2 separate regions of the Homo sapiens genome follow, and region 1 is linked to region 2. Evidence: promoter capture Hi-C in human tissues and cell types (Jung and others, 2019). All regions are on one chromosome and are shown on one strand. The core of a region is centred on a gene start or on the middle of the fragment in contact, and the rest is flanking DNA. Distances in the headings are between cores, read along the strand shown.

Evidence for each region. The method cuts DNA at HindIII sites, captures the fragments that hold promoters and counts their contacts. A contact is called where the count stands out against the background at its distance.
Region 1: a fragment that was not itself captured here is called in contact with the fragment with the promoter of SMAD7 in region 2 in 1 of the 25 tissues and cell types used here (lymphoblastoid cells).

What each region holds. Positions count from the first base shown.
Region 1 is chr18:49,388,470-49,394,206 of GRCh38, reverse strand. DYM (dymeclin) reads left to right here. Exons shown (of 18, transcript NM_001353214.3): 3 at 2,562-2,614. Among named protein-coding and RNA genes, the nearest start is that of DYM, 69 kb to the left of the region's middle. The HindIII fragment of the contact is 3,584 bases long and covers 503-4,086 here.
Region 2 is chr18:48,948,321-48,954,362 of GRCh38, reverse strand. SMAD7 (SMAD family member 7) reads left to right here and starts at 3,398. Exons shown (of 4, transcript NM_005904.4): 1 at 3,398-4,551; 2 at 5,926-5,979. The coding sequence starts at 3,939. RefSeq lists silencers at 1,315-1,654, 2,225-2,924, 4,141-4,460, 5,501-5,700 and an enhancer at 5,567-6,042. The HindIII fragment of the contact is 10,376 bases long and covers 1-4,620 here.

The DNA of each region.
Region 1 (5,737 bases), core at 1,045-3,544, 440 kb before region 2:
ACTATCTAGTAAGTAGTTGAACTGGAGTTGAAATGCACTTAAAAAAATTGTGGTGAAATATACACAATGTAAAATAATCATTTTAACCATTTTAAAGTATATAGTTCTGTGGCATTAAGTATATTCACATTATCATGCAATCATTAACACCATCCATCTCTAAAACTTTTTAATCTTGGCAAACTGAAACTCTATACTGACTAAACACTAGTTCCCTATTCTCCCATCCCCAGCCCCTGGCAATCACCTTTTTACTTTTTCTCTTTGAGTTTAACTCCTCTAGGAGCCTCATATAAGAGGAATCATACAATATTTATCTTTTTGTGGCTGGCTTATTTCACTTAGCATAATGTCTTCAGGGTTCATTCATGTTGTAGCATATATTGAAATTCCCTATTTTATTTTTATTTATTTATTTTTATTATTATTTTCTTTTGAGATGAAGTTTCTCTCTTGTTGCTTAGGCTGGAGTGCAATGGTGCCATCTCAGCTCACCGCAATCTCTGCCTCCTGCATTCAAGTGATTCTCCTGCCTCAGCCTCCCGAGTAGCTGAAATTACAGGCATGCACCACCACACCCGGCTAATTTTGTATTTTTAGTAGAGATGGGGTTTCTCCATGTTGGTCAGGCTGGTCTTGAACTCCCGACTTCAGGTGATCTGCCCGCCTTGGCCTCCCAAAGTGCTGGGATTACAGGCATGAGCCACCGCGCCTGTCAAAATTCCCTATTTCTTAAGACTAAATAATATTCCATTGTGTGTATGTACATTTCATTTATCCATCTATCTGTTGGTACACATGTGGGTTACTTCTACCTCTTGGCTACTGTTAGTGGAGCTGCCATGGACACGAGTGTACAACTATCTCTTCAAGACCCTGCTTTCACTTCTTTTGGGTATCTACCCGGATGGTAATTTTATGTTTAATTTTTTGAGGAACTGCCATATTTTTGCCATAGTGGCTGCATCATTTTACATACCATCAGTGCACAAGGGTCCTAATTTCTCTGCATCCTTGCTAACACTTGTTACTTTCTTTTTTCCTTCCTTCCTTCCTTCCTTCCTTCCTTCCTTCCTTCCTTCCTTCCTTCCTTCCTTCCTTCCTTCCTTCCTTCCCTCCCTCCCTTCTTTCCTCCTCCTCCTCCTCCCCTCCTCCCCTCCTCCTCCTCCTCCTCCTCCTTCTTCCTCTTCTTCTTCTTCTTTTTTTTTTTTTGAGATGGAGTCTGACTCTGTCTCCCAGGTTGGAGTGCAGTGGCACGATCTTGGCTCACTGTAACCTCTGCCTCCTGGGTTCAAGCAATTCTCCTGCTGCATCCTCCCAAGTAGCTGGGATCACAGGCGTGTACCACCATGCCTGGCTAATTTTTGTATTTTTAGTAGAGATGGGTTTCACCATATTGGCCAGGCTGGTCTTGAACTCCTGACCTCAAGTTATCTGCCCTCCTCAGCCTCCCAAAGTGCTGGGATTACAGGTGTGAGCCCACCTCGCCTGGCCTCTTTTTTTTTTTTTTTTTTTTTTTTTTTTTAAATAAAAGCCATCCCAATGGGTGTGGAGTAGTATCTCGCTCTGGTTTTAGTGTTTCACTAATGACTAGTGATGTTGAGCATGTTTTCATGTACTTATTGGCCATTTCTATATCCTCTTTGGAAAATGGCTATTTAAGTCGTTGGTCCATTTTAAAATTGGGTTGTTTGGTTTTTGTTGTTGTTGAGTTGTAGGAGTTTTAAAAGTATATTCTGGATATCAATCTCTTATCAGATATGTGATTTACAAGTACTGTTTTCCATTCTGTGGGTTGACTTTTCACTCTGTAGATAGTATCCTTTGATCCACAGAAGTTTTTAATTTTGGTAAAGTCCAGCATGTCTGTTTTTTTCTGTTGATACCTGTGCTTTTTGGTGTCACATCCAAGAAATTGTTGTCAAATGCAATCTCAAGAAACATATTTTCTTCTAAGCTTTATTTCTGTCTCTGTCTATCTGTGCCTCTTTTCTCTGTGTCATCTTGAGTCTGTCTCTGTATCTGTTTCTGTATGTTTGTATCTTTGTATCTTTTTTCTATATATTTATAAACCACCAAAACATATATGTATCGTCTCTCTTTTCTTGCTTTATTTCTTCCTTTTCCTTTTTTTCTAGAACTTTTTGAAAGTATTGTAGCAATCATGACACTCCATGTATTTCCTAAAAATAATAGCATATTTCTAAACTATAATTAGTACTGCCTTTAGAATTGGGCACACAGGGCCCTTGCCTTGAGCTCTCTACTTTGGAGTGCCTTTCTTGAATTTTTCTAAGTCTCCCTGCTGCCTTAATGCCTGAAAGGCAGGGTGCCCCAAGCTCTTCTCTTTAGGAGTCTCATATTTAGAAATACAGTAAATTTCCTAATTATATTGAAAATTGAAGCCTAACTTTTTTTTTTGCTGATCTTATTGTTCACTACTGTGCACCATATTTTTCTTCTAAATTATTTTTCTTATCTTTATATATTTCTTTAACTGATTAGCATGTACATATTTAGTATTATAGTCATTAATTACCTTTATTCTTCTGTCTCTCCAGTAGTGAGTTGAAACTCTTGGAGGAAGCAACCATTTCAGTCTGCAGGTCATTAGGTAAGTGGGAAAAATGTGTGTGGGGTGTTGTTTTCAAATTTTGTTTTAGATTTTGATAGTATAATATGAACTGAATTAATGAAGTAATTACTCTTCTTTGATAGCAATAGTAATAATTTTTTCTATTTGTGGCATTCACAGATGCTGCTAGAAGGTACCCTTCAGTCAATAGCAATATGACACATGCTTGGCTATATCTGCAGTAGTGGTAATGGACTCTGCTAAGCCATAGACACTCTTTCGTCTTGTTCTTTTTGTGAATTTTGAAATACTGAAAATAATGTGATTTACCAAGTGCTGTTATTGACTATGTTCACCAGAACAATATTAAAATCTATTAAGAATGTATATTAGGAAGTTTCCATAACAACTTGATATTATGGCAAAGAGCATGGAATCCAGAATCATTTTATGATTTTAATTTCAGCTGTGCTACCTATTAGCTGAGCCTTAATTTCCTCATATAGATTGAGGATAAGGACAACTATTTACAGGATTCTTATAAGGAAAAATTAGGTAATATGAAATATTCAGTACAATGTGTGTCATGTAGTCATTGCAAACCATTTATGTCAGCAAATGTTACCCTTTTCAGGTCTTGTTTCTCAAATGCTTAACTTTCAAGTTCATAGCAATTGGAAGGAAATTGTATATATTTTTAAAATGCAGGCAGTTTTACTTAGATTGCATTGGTGCTTTGAAAAGTAAGACAATGTGTCTGTGAAATACCTAGGGTACAGGAATGTAATAAGTGAGAACAATATTCTGTTTTAAAATCAGGCTGTCTAGGCCGGACACAGTGGCTCACGCCTATAATCCCAGCATTTTGAGAGGCTGATGCGAGTGGATCACGAAGTCAGGAGTTCAAGACCAGCTTGGCCAAGATGGTGAAACCCCGTCACTACTAAAAATCCAAAAATTAGCAAGGCATGGTGGTGGGCGCCTGTAATCCCAGCTACTTGGGAGGCTGAGGCAGAGAATTGCTTGAACCCGGGAGGCAGAGGTTGCAGTGAGCCGAGATCGCGCCACTGCACTCCAGCCTGGGCGACAGAGCGAGACTCTGTCTCAAAAAACATTAAAAAAAAAAATCGAGCTGTATGGATAACTCCCATATAAACTATTTTGCTAAAAACAGTTTTTGATGATTTATTTTTTTTTTTAAAGAGATAGAGTCTTGCTTTGCTGCCCAGGCTGGAGTGCACTGGTGCCATTGTGGCTCACTGCAGCCTTGATCTCCTGGGCTTCAGTGATCCTTCCACCTCAGCCTCCTCAGAAGCTGGGGCTATAGGTGCATGGCACCACACCTGCCTAATGATTTTATTTTATTTTTGTATAGATGGGGGTCTCCTGTGTTGCCGAGGCTAGTCTCAGGCTCCTGGCCGCAAGCCTTCCTCCTCCTACCTTGGACCCCCAAAGTGTTGGGATATTACAGGTGTTAGCCACCGTGCCTGGGCCCAAATATTTTTGTTTTTAAAAACAAACTATGTTGATAATGAAAAGGTGTTATTGTAGTAGTTGTCTTGCCTTACAACCATAGCTTAGGGAATTTTTTGCTAAATAGAGCTGGCTTTCAAAAGCCATGTCGCAATTCAGTGCTGAAAATTAAGGAGTTTTATGTAACAATATTAGTGTAGTTACTGTGATAATGGCTTTTAAGGTGACTTTGGGTTTTTAAAAAAATTATAAAATTAAAAGATGAAAAAACAAAAATATAACAAAGCAATGAGAAAACAAAGAAAAAATTACATTAAGAAAACTGAAAGTAGCTGGGAGTGGTGGCTCATGCCTGTAATACTGGTAACTTTAGGAGGCTGAGGCAGGAGGGTTGCTTGAGGTCAGAGTTCAAGACCAGCTTGGGCAACATAATAAGACCCCATCTCTTACAAAATCTACATCTTACCCATCTACACGCAAAAAAATTGAAAAAACTTAACCAGGCATGGTGGCATGTGCCTGTAGTCTCAGCTGCTTGCGAGATTGAGGTAGGAGGATTGATCGAGCCCAGGAATTTGAGGCTGCAGGGAACCATGATGGCGCCACTGGACTCCAGTCTGGACAATACAGCAAGACTCCAAATCTAGGGGCGAAAAAAAGCAAGTAATATTTACTCATTATACATAATGTGGAAAGCATACTAAAATGTAAATGAGGTAGTAATTGCTCATAATTTGAAAACCCTGACATAGGCATTGTTGATATTTTTGTATTTTTTCTTCTACTACTTATTCAATAGATATAAATTTATATATATATCATCCACCACACACACACACACACAGACACACACACACATTTTAATCTGTGTTTTTCACTTGACATTGTATCAGGAATGTGTTACATGTTTAAAAATACTTTTGGGAACAGCAAAACAAGATATACATTTATTGCCCCAAATTCCAGTAATGTGATGGTATGGCTAAAATAAAAATCATCTCATATTAAACAGTACATGTGTAATCACTGCTAATCTTTTGTGACAATTTCATATAAATGGTATTATTTATATTTTGTTTACACGCAGCAACATGTCAGGAACCTCTTCACATCAATAAGTATAAGTGCATATCAACTTTAAGGGCTATGTGAGTGTACTTAGTTTCCTTTTTGAAAAAAAAATTTTTTTAAGTGCTGGTCTACTGGCAACAATTTTCCTTCTCTTTTTTCTTTTTTTTTTTTTTTGTCTGAAAATGTGCTATTTTTTTTCTTGGCTTTTGAAGCATATGTTTTGCTGGATATAGAATTTTAGATAGACGTTAATTTATTTTCCGTACTTTAAAGGTGTCATTTCGTTATTTTCTAGCTTTTCTTGTTTTTGTTGTGAAGAAAGCAGTCAACCTTATTGTTGCTTCTTTGAAAATAATGGAATTTTTAACTTCGGCTGCTTTTAAGTTTTTCTTTTTATCTTTTGATTTTCAGTAGCCTTAGAGTGATGTGCTGAGGAGAGGTTTTCTTTGTTTTTTTGTCGCCTGAGGTTTGTAGAGATTCTTAAATCTGTGAGTTGGTGTCTTTTATCAGTATTGGAAAATTCTTAGCCATTATGTGTTTATATATAAAATTTTTGTTCTATTCTGTCTCTCCTCTCCTCCTGGGACGCTTGTTACACTTCTGTTCAATGTTTTGTTT
Region 2 (6,042 bases), core at 2,149-4,648:
CAGCTTCTGTCCGTCCAGTAGGGTTCTGCACTGCTTGGCATCCTACTATCTTCCAAGTCAATAAGTGTTAGGATCTCCTTGCCTGGAAATGATCATGTAAGCAATGTTGCTGATTTCCTCTTGAATTTATATTACCAAAGGTACTTTTGGTGGGGTGGAGGAAGGGTCCAAATGCCCCTTAAGCCCTAAGTGTTGATTTCTAAATATTTATTAAGCATCTACTATTGTACTAATATGTTAGAAATCTTTTTAATTGCTAGAGGGGGAGAGGACTTGAGCTCTAAAGGCGGCTAAGATTCATTCCTGCCTTTTCCTTTTAAGAACATATAATTTAGCCGGCAAGATGTACATTTCATCTTTACTTTTCTTTTTTTCTTTTCTTTTTTTGAGACAGAGTCTCACTCTGTTGCCCAGGATGGAGTGCAGTGGCGCGATCTCAGCTCACTGCAACCTCCGTCTCCCGGGTTCAAGCAATTCTCCTGTCTCAGCTGGGATTACTGGCGCGCGCCACCCGCCTGGCTAATTTTTGTATTTTTAGTAGAGACGGGTTTCACCATGTTGGCCAGGCTGGTCTCAAACTCTTGACCTCAGGTGATCCACCTGCCTCAGCCTCCCAAAGTGCTGGGATTACAAGCGTGAGCCATCGCACCTGGGCACATTTCACCTTTTCTAAAGATTATTTTAAGGCCAGGTGCAGTGGCTCACGCCTGTACTCCCAGTACTTTGAGAGGCTGAGGCAGGTAGATCACTTGAGGTCAGGAGTTCCACATCAGCCTGGCCAACATGGTTAAACCGCGTCACTACCAAAAAATACAAAAATTAGCCAGATGTGGTGGCGCGCGCCTGTAGTCCCAGCTACTCCGGAGGCTGAGGTGGGAGAATCGTTTGATCTGGGGAGGCAGAGGCTGCAGTGAGCCGAAATCGAGCCACTGGACTCTAGCCCGGGTGAAGAGTGAGACTCTAAAAAAAAAAAAAAAAAGAAAGAAAGAAAGAAAAAAAGATTCTTTAAAGCCCCCAACGAGTTTCACTGCTGGCCTGATCTCACAATTCTCAATGGCTTTTTAAAAAAATCGTATTTCACTGAATATGAAGTGAGGTTAGATCACCATGCCAACTAGTGGCCTCATCAATACTGATGTGTGTGTATTTAAATCATTACGTTTCTCGGAGCCATCAGCTTTCACGCTGTAAATGCGTTTATGCCCTAGCAATGCCATGCCCGTTTCTATGCAGTAACCCGCCAGCTTGGGTATATGTTTCTTCGGGACCTGGGGTCAAGGAATAAACTCTCTGACTCTAAGCACCTTGAAAGCTACGAGGCCCAGAAACAGGGCCTGCATGCAAATGAATGCCCTAGGCAGGTCTGCTCGCTGGGTAACCTTCCCGCGCCGGGAGGCAGGGTGGCGGGTGGCGGAGGTCTTCCGGGCCCGGGAGGAAACCTGCCCGCGGCGCGCAGGCGAGCCCCCACCCCCGCTCCCCTTCTCCCGCCGGGATGCTGCCCCTCACAGCTCGTCAGCCGGCCAAATGCATTCCAGAGCTGTGCACAAGACACACTTCTCCAGGCAGTCCTAGAAACCGGAGCCCGGAGCTGAGAGGGCGGGAGGGAGCGCGCGGCCGCCGCTGAGGTCATATTCACGCCGCCTCCCCGCCCTCGGCGGCTGTTCCCCTCAGCGCACACTTCCCAGGGCCTCGGTCCAGTCCGGTATAAATGTCTTTTAAACCGAGACAGCGCTCTCCTCCCCTTGCCCTCGGGCGCGGCCAAGGGATCCACCGCCAGGGCCTTTAAAACAAAACCAATGAATGAAGCGCTAGGGCGAGCGCGCGCGAGATGGCCACCGCGAAACCCAGCCGGGTCGAAATCGGGCCACCGACCCGCTCGCTCAGCTCCAAAACTCGCGGCGAAGCCCGCTCGGTGCTCCCTGCTTTTCCAATTTCTCCATGGCTCCGGCCGGGGCTCAATCCATTCTGGGAGCTTCTCTGCCCCCCACCTATCTCTCTCCCCTCCATCGGTACCCCCTCTACAGACCCGGGAGGGGGTGGCGGTGGCGGGGGGTTGGGGGGAGAAATAGCTTTTAGAAACCCGATCTGTTGTTTGCGAAACACAATCGCTTTTTTTTTTTTTTTAAAGCGACAGGGTGTCTAGACGGCCACGTGACGAGGCCGGAGCCGGGCGCGCCACTGCGCAGTGGAACCAGCCGAGCAGAGGGCCGGAGGGGGGGTGCGGGGGGGCGGGGAGGAGGCGGCGCGGCTGCGGCGGCTGGGGGCGGGGGAGGGAAGGGGGAGGAAGGGGGAGGGAAGGGGGCGGGGGCGGGAGGCCTTGCGGGAGGCGGTGAGCCCCGGGCACACTCGCTTGCTGCTCGGCGCACGGAAGATCCTGTCCCCGAGCCGCGCCAGCCGAGCCAGCCGGGCGCCGTGCTCGGTCCGCTCGCCGCGCGGGAGAGAGCTGCCCGAGACAGAGCCAGTCCGTCGGCGCCGAGCCGCCGAGCGCCCGGCCCCTGAGCCCCTGAGTGCGGCGCGGCGAGCCCCTGGCGGCGGCAGAAGGACCGGAGCGCCAGGAGAGGGCGGACCGGGGACAAGGAGGCTCCCGGGCGCGACGAGGAGAGTCTCGGAGGAGGAGGCGCCGAGAGGACACCGGGGCCTCCTGCCGCCGCAGCTGGGTCGAGGCGAGCAGCCCATGCGGGGAGCCTCGGCGGCCAGCCGCGGCCAGGGGAAGGGACATCGGCGGCCCCTGCACTAGCAAGCAGCTTGTGCCCGGGGGGGGCGAGAACGCGCGACCCGTCTGGGGCCCTCCGCCGCCGCCGCGCCACCCTCCCCCGCGCTGTCAGCCCCGCCGGGCTCAGCCGCCGCCGCAGCATCTTCTGCCCCTGCGCCCGCGCCAGCCTCGAGGAAGTCCCCGCCGAGGACCTGGGCCCCCAGGAGCGCAGGGGGAAAGACCAGAGACTCCCCTAAACCACCCAGATGCGCAGGATTGAAGCGGTCTAGCCAAAGCTTTCTGTGGATTAAAAAAATACACGATTTTTTTTTTTTTTTTTGGCAGAAGAAAAGGAGAGGAAGACCAGCGGGGCTTTGCAAGGAAACGGGGGGATGTAACTCGTGGATACATTTTTCCACCCATCAAACATCTTGTTATACTTTGTAAACATTTTCTTTTTTTAAACCCCAGTTCCAGCCGGACGCCCCCAGACCTCTGAGGTTCGAGGAGGTGGTGGTTTTCATTTGGGGCTTTGCATATTTGGTTGTTAGGTTTTGCGAGAGCCTTCTTATTTTGCCAGACGTCTCATGCGGGGTGAAGTCCACTCGGCCCCCTCCCCTGAGTCTTCGTGTGCGCGGAATTCGAGGAGATCCGGTTACTAAGGATATAGAGGAAAAAAATAAATCGCTTGCTTTTTTTTTTTTAATTGCCTGCTTCTCCCCACCCCCAAATTAAGTTGCTTAGCAAGGGGGAAAGAGGCTTTTTCCTTCTTCCAACAGCCCAGCCGAACGCCTTTCGTTTTTTGCCCCCGCGGACCTTCCATGTAGGAAGCCGAGGCTGGCGAGCCCGACATTCGGGAGCCACTGCGGGGGGGCCTCTTTTTGGGGAGGCGCCGACGGGGGCAGGCTCGGCCGTCCCCAGGGAAGCGGCGGCCGGGTTCCTCCGGGGCGCGCCGGGGCCGGAGAGCCGCGCAGGGCGCGGGCCGCGCGGGGTGGGGCAGCCGGAGCGCAGGCCCCCGATCCCCGGCGGGCGCCCCCGGGCCCCCGCGCGCGCCCCGGCCTCCGGGAGACTGGCGCATGCCACGGAGCGCCCCTCGGGCCGCCGCCGCTCCTGCCCGGGCCCCTGCTGCTGCTGCTGTCGCCTGCGCCTGCTGCCCCAACTCGGCGCCCGACTTCTTCATGGTGTGCGGAGGTCATGTTCGCTCCTTAGCAGGCAAACGACTTTTCTCCTCGCCTCCTCGCCCCGCATGTTCAGGACCAAACGATCTGCGCTCGTCCGGCGTCTCTGGAGGAGCCGTGCGCCCGGCGGCGAGGACGAGGAGGAGGGCGCAGGGGGAGGTGGAGGAGGAGGCGAGCTGCGGGGAGAAGGGGCGACGGACAGCCGAGCGCATGGGGCCGGTGGCGGCGGCCCGGGCAGGGCTGGATGCTGCCTGGGCAAGGCGGTGCGAGGTGCCAAAGGTCACCACCATCCCCACCCGCCAGCCGCGGGCGCCGGCGCGGCCGGGGGCGCCGAGGCGGATCTGAAGGCGCTCACGCACTCGGTGCTCAAGAAACTGAAGGAGCGGCAGCTGGAGCTGCTGCTCCAGGCCGTGGAGTCCCGCGGCGGGACGCGCACCGCGTGCCTCCTGCTGCCCGGCCGCCTGGACTGCAGGCTGGGCCCGGGGGCGCCCGCCGGCGCGCAGCCTGCGCAGCCGCCCTCGTCCTACTCGCTCCCCCTCCTGCTGTGCAAAGTGTTCAGGTGGCCGGATCTCAGGCATTCCTCGGAAGTCAAGAGGCTGTGTTGCTGTGAATCTTACGGGAAGATCAACCCCGAGCTGGTGTGCTGCAACCCCCATCACCTTAGCCGACTCTGCGAACTAGGTGAGAAGTTGTCCCCCTACCCCCAACATTTTCCGGAGCGCCAGTGCTGGAAGAAAAGCCCCTAGGGCAGTGCGTTTGTGCAGCCATCCCTCCAGGGGGAGTGTGCATACCCTCCTGGGAGAGTGTGCATACCCTCCTGGGAGAGTGTGCATACCCTCCTGGGAAGAGACTGGGGGCTGAAAGTAGAGAAGGGACAAGGGGAAACTCAAAGGGCATTCCCTGGGGGTTCCCTTCCAGGTTTTCTCCTGTGTTGCCCCGAAGGGGTCTACGGGCACTGCTCCTGCAGTCTGCGGTTAAAAATTAGACGCCTTCATTTCCGGATCAACAAGGGGGTGCAGAGGGAGGTGGGGGGGTCACGCCTCCCCGCACCCGGAAAGACGTTGAGGTGTGTGGCCGAGTTGGATTTGGTCCAGGCCCGCCAAGGAAGGCTGGGAGAGGCGTGCTATAAAGGCTGGAAGGTCTCCGTATTTACTCCTTTAGTAAATACGGAGAATCACGTCGAACACCAGTGGCCCAGATACTGTCGTGGCCGCGCACCTTTGGAGTTTTGGGGCAAAGAGAGTTGGATGGAAGGCCGAACTGGGTATCTGTCTCCTTTCAACTCTGCCAGCCCCAGGGTGCAGAGGAACAAACAGGCAGGAGAAGTTGGGTGTCCCCTACTTTTTCCTTCCTTCCGCACAGATAAGTCTGTAGATTAGTGGGGCCCCGGCGCCTCAGTGACGTTGTCGCCTCTTACTGCGCTGGGGCCTGGGCTTCTCGGCTGAGACCCTGAAACTCCTTTCCTTTTATCCTCTCAGCTTTCTCCATTCCTTCCTTTACTCTACGTCTCTGTACACAGAGTGTGATGTGAGGGTTCACCCCGGGCGCCCGCAGATCCCCCACGTTCCCCAGCACGCTTGGGATGCATCTCCCGAGTGCGCTAGGAATGGGCAGCCCCGTGTCCCCCGCGCGAGTGCCGAGCGGACCGGCGGGGGCAGAGGTGAATTGCACGCCTGGGGGGCGGGCCGGGGCGGGGAGCCGAGGTTGCTGGGAGCTGGGTCTGGAGTCCGAGGACGGGGAGGGGGCATGGTCGCCCCCCGCCCTGTGAACTGTGAAGTGCGCGGCTCCGGCCGAGCCGGTGGTTTCCAGCCGGGCCAGCCGAGCGCGGCGGCTGCGGCCGCAGACGTGGAGGAGCGGAGCGCCGAGGCTGGCGCCAGGCGGCCTCTTTTGTTTATCTGACAGCTAAATATCAAGGCAATCACCGCCTCGCGGCCCTGCCTCCAACCCCCACAGCTAAGACAAACAGTTGGGCTAAAAGAATGCCTCTGTTATCATAAGTTTCTATCTCTCTTCTCATGGCTGGGCCTTTATTTTCTCTTGCTTTTTTAATTTCAGAGTCTCCCCCCCCTCCTTACTCCAGATACCCGATGGATTTTCTCAAACCAACTGGTGAGTAGATGATTTTTAAAATATCCTGCTTATCTTAAGTTAGAAATAGAGCCTCTAGAACGT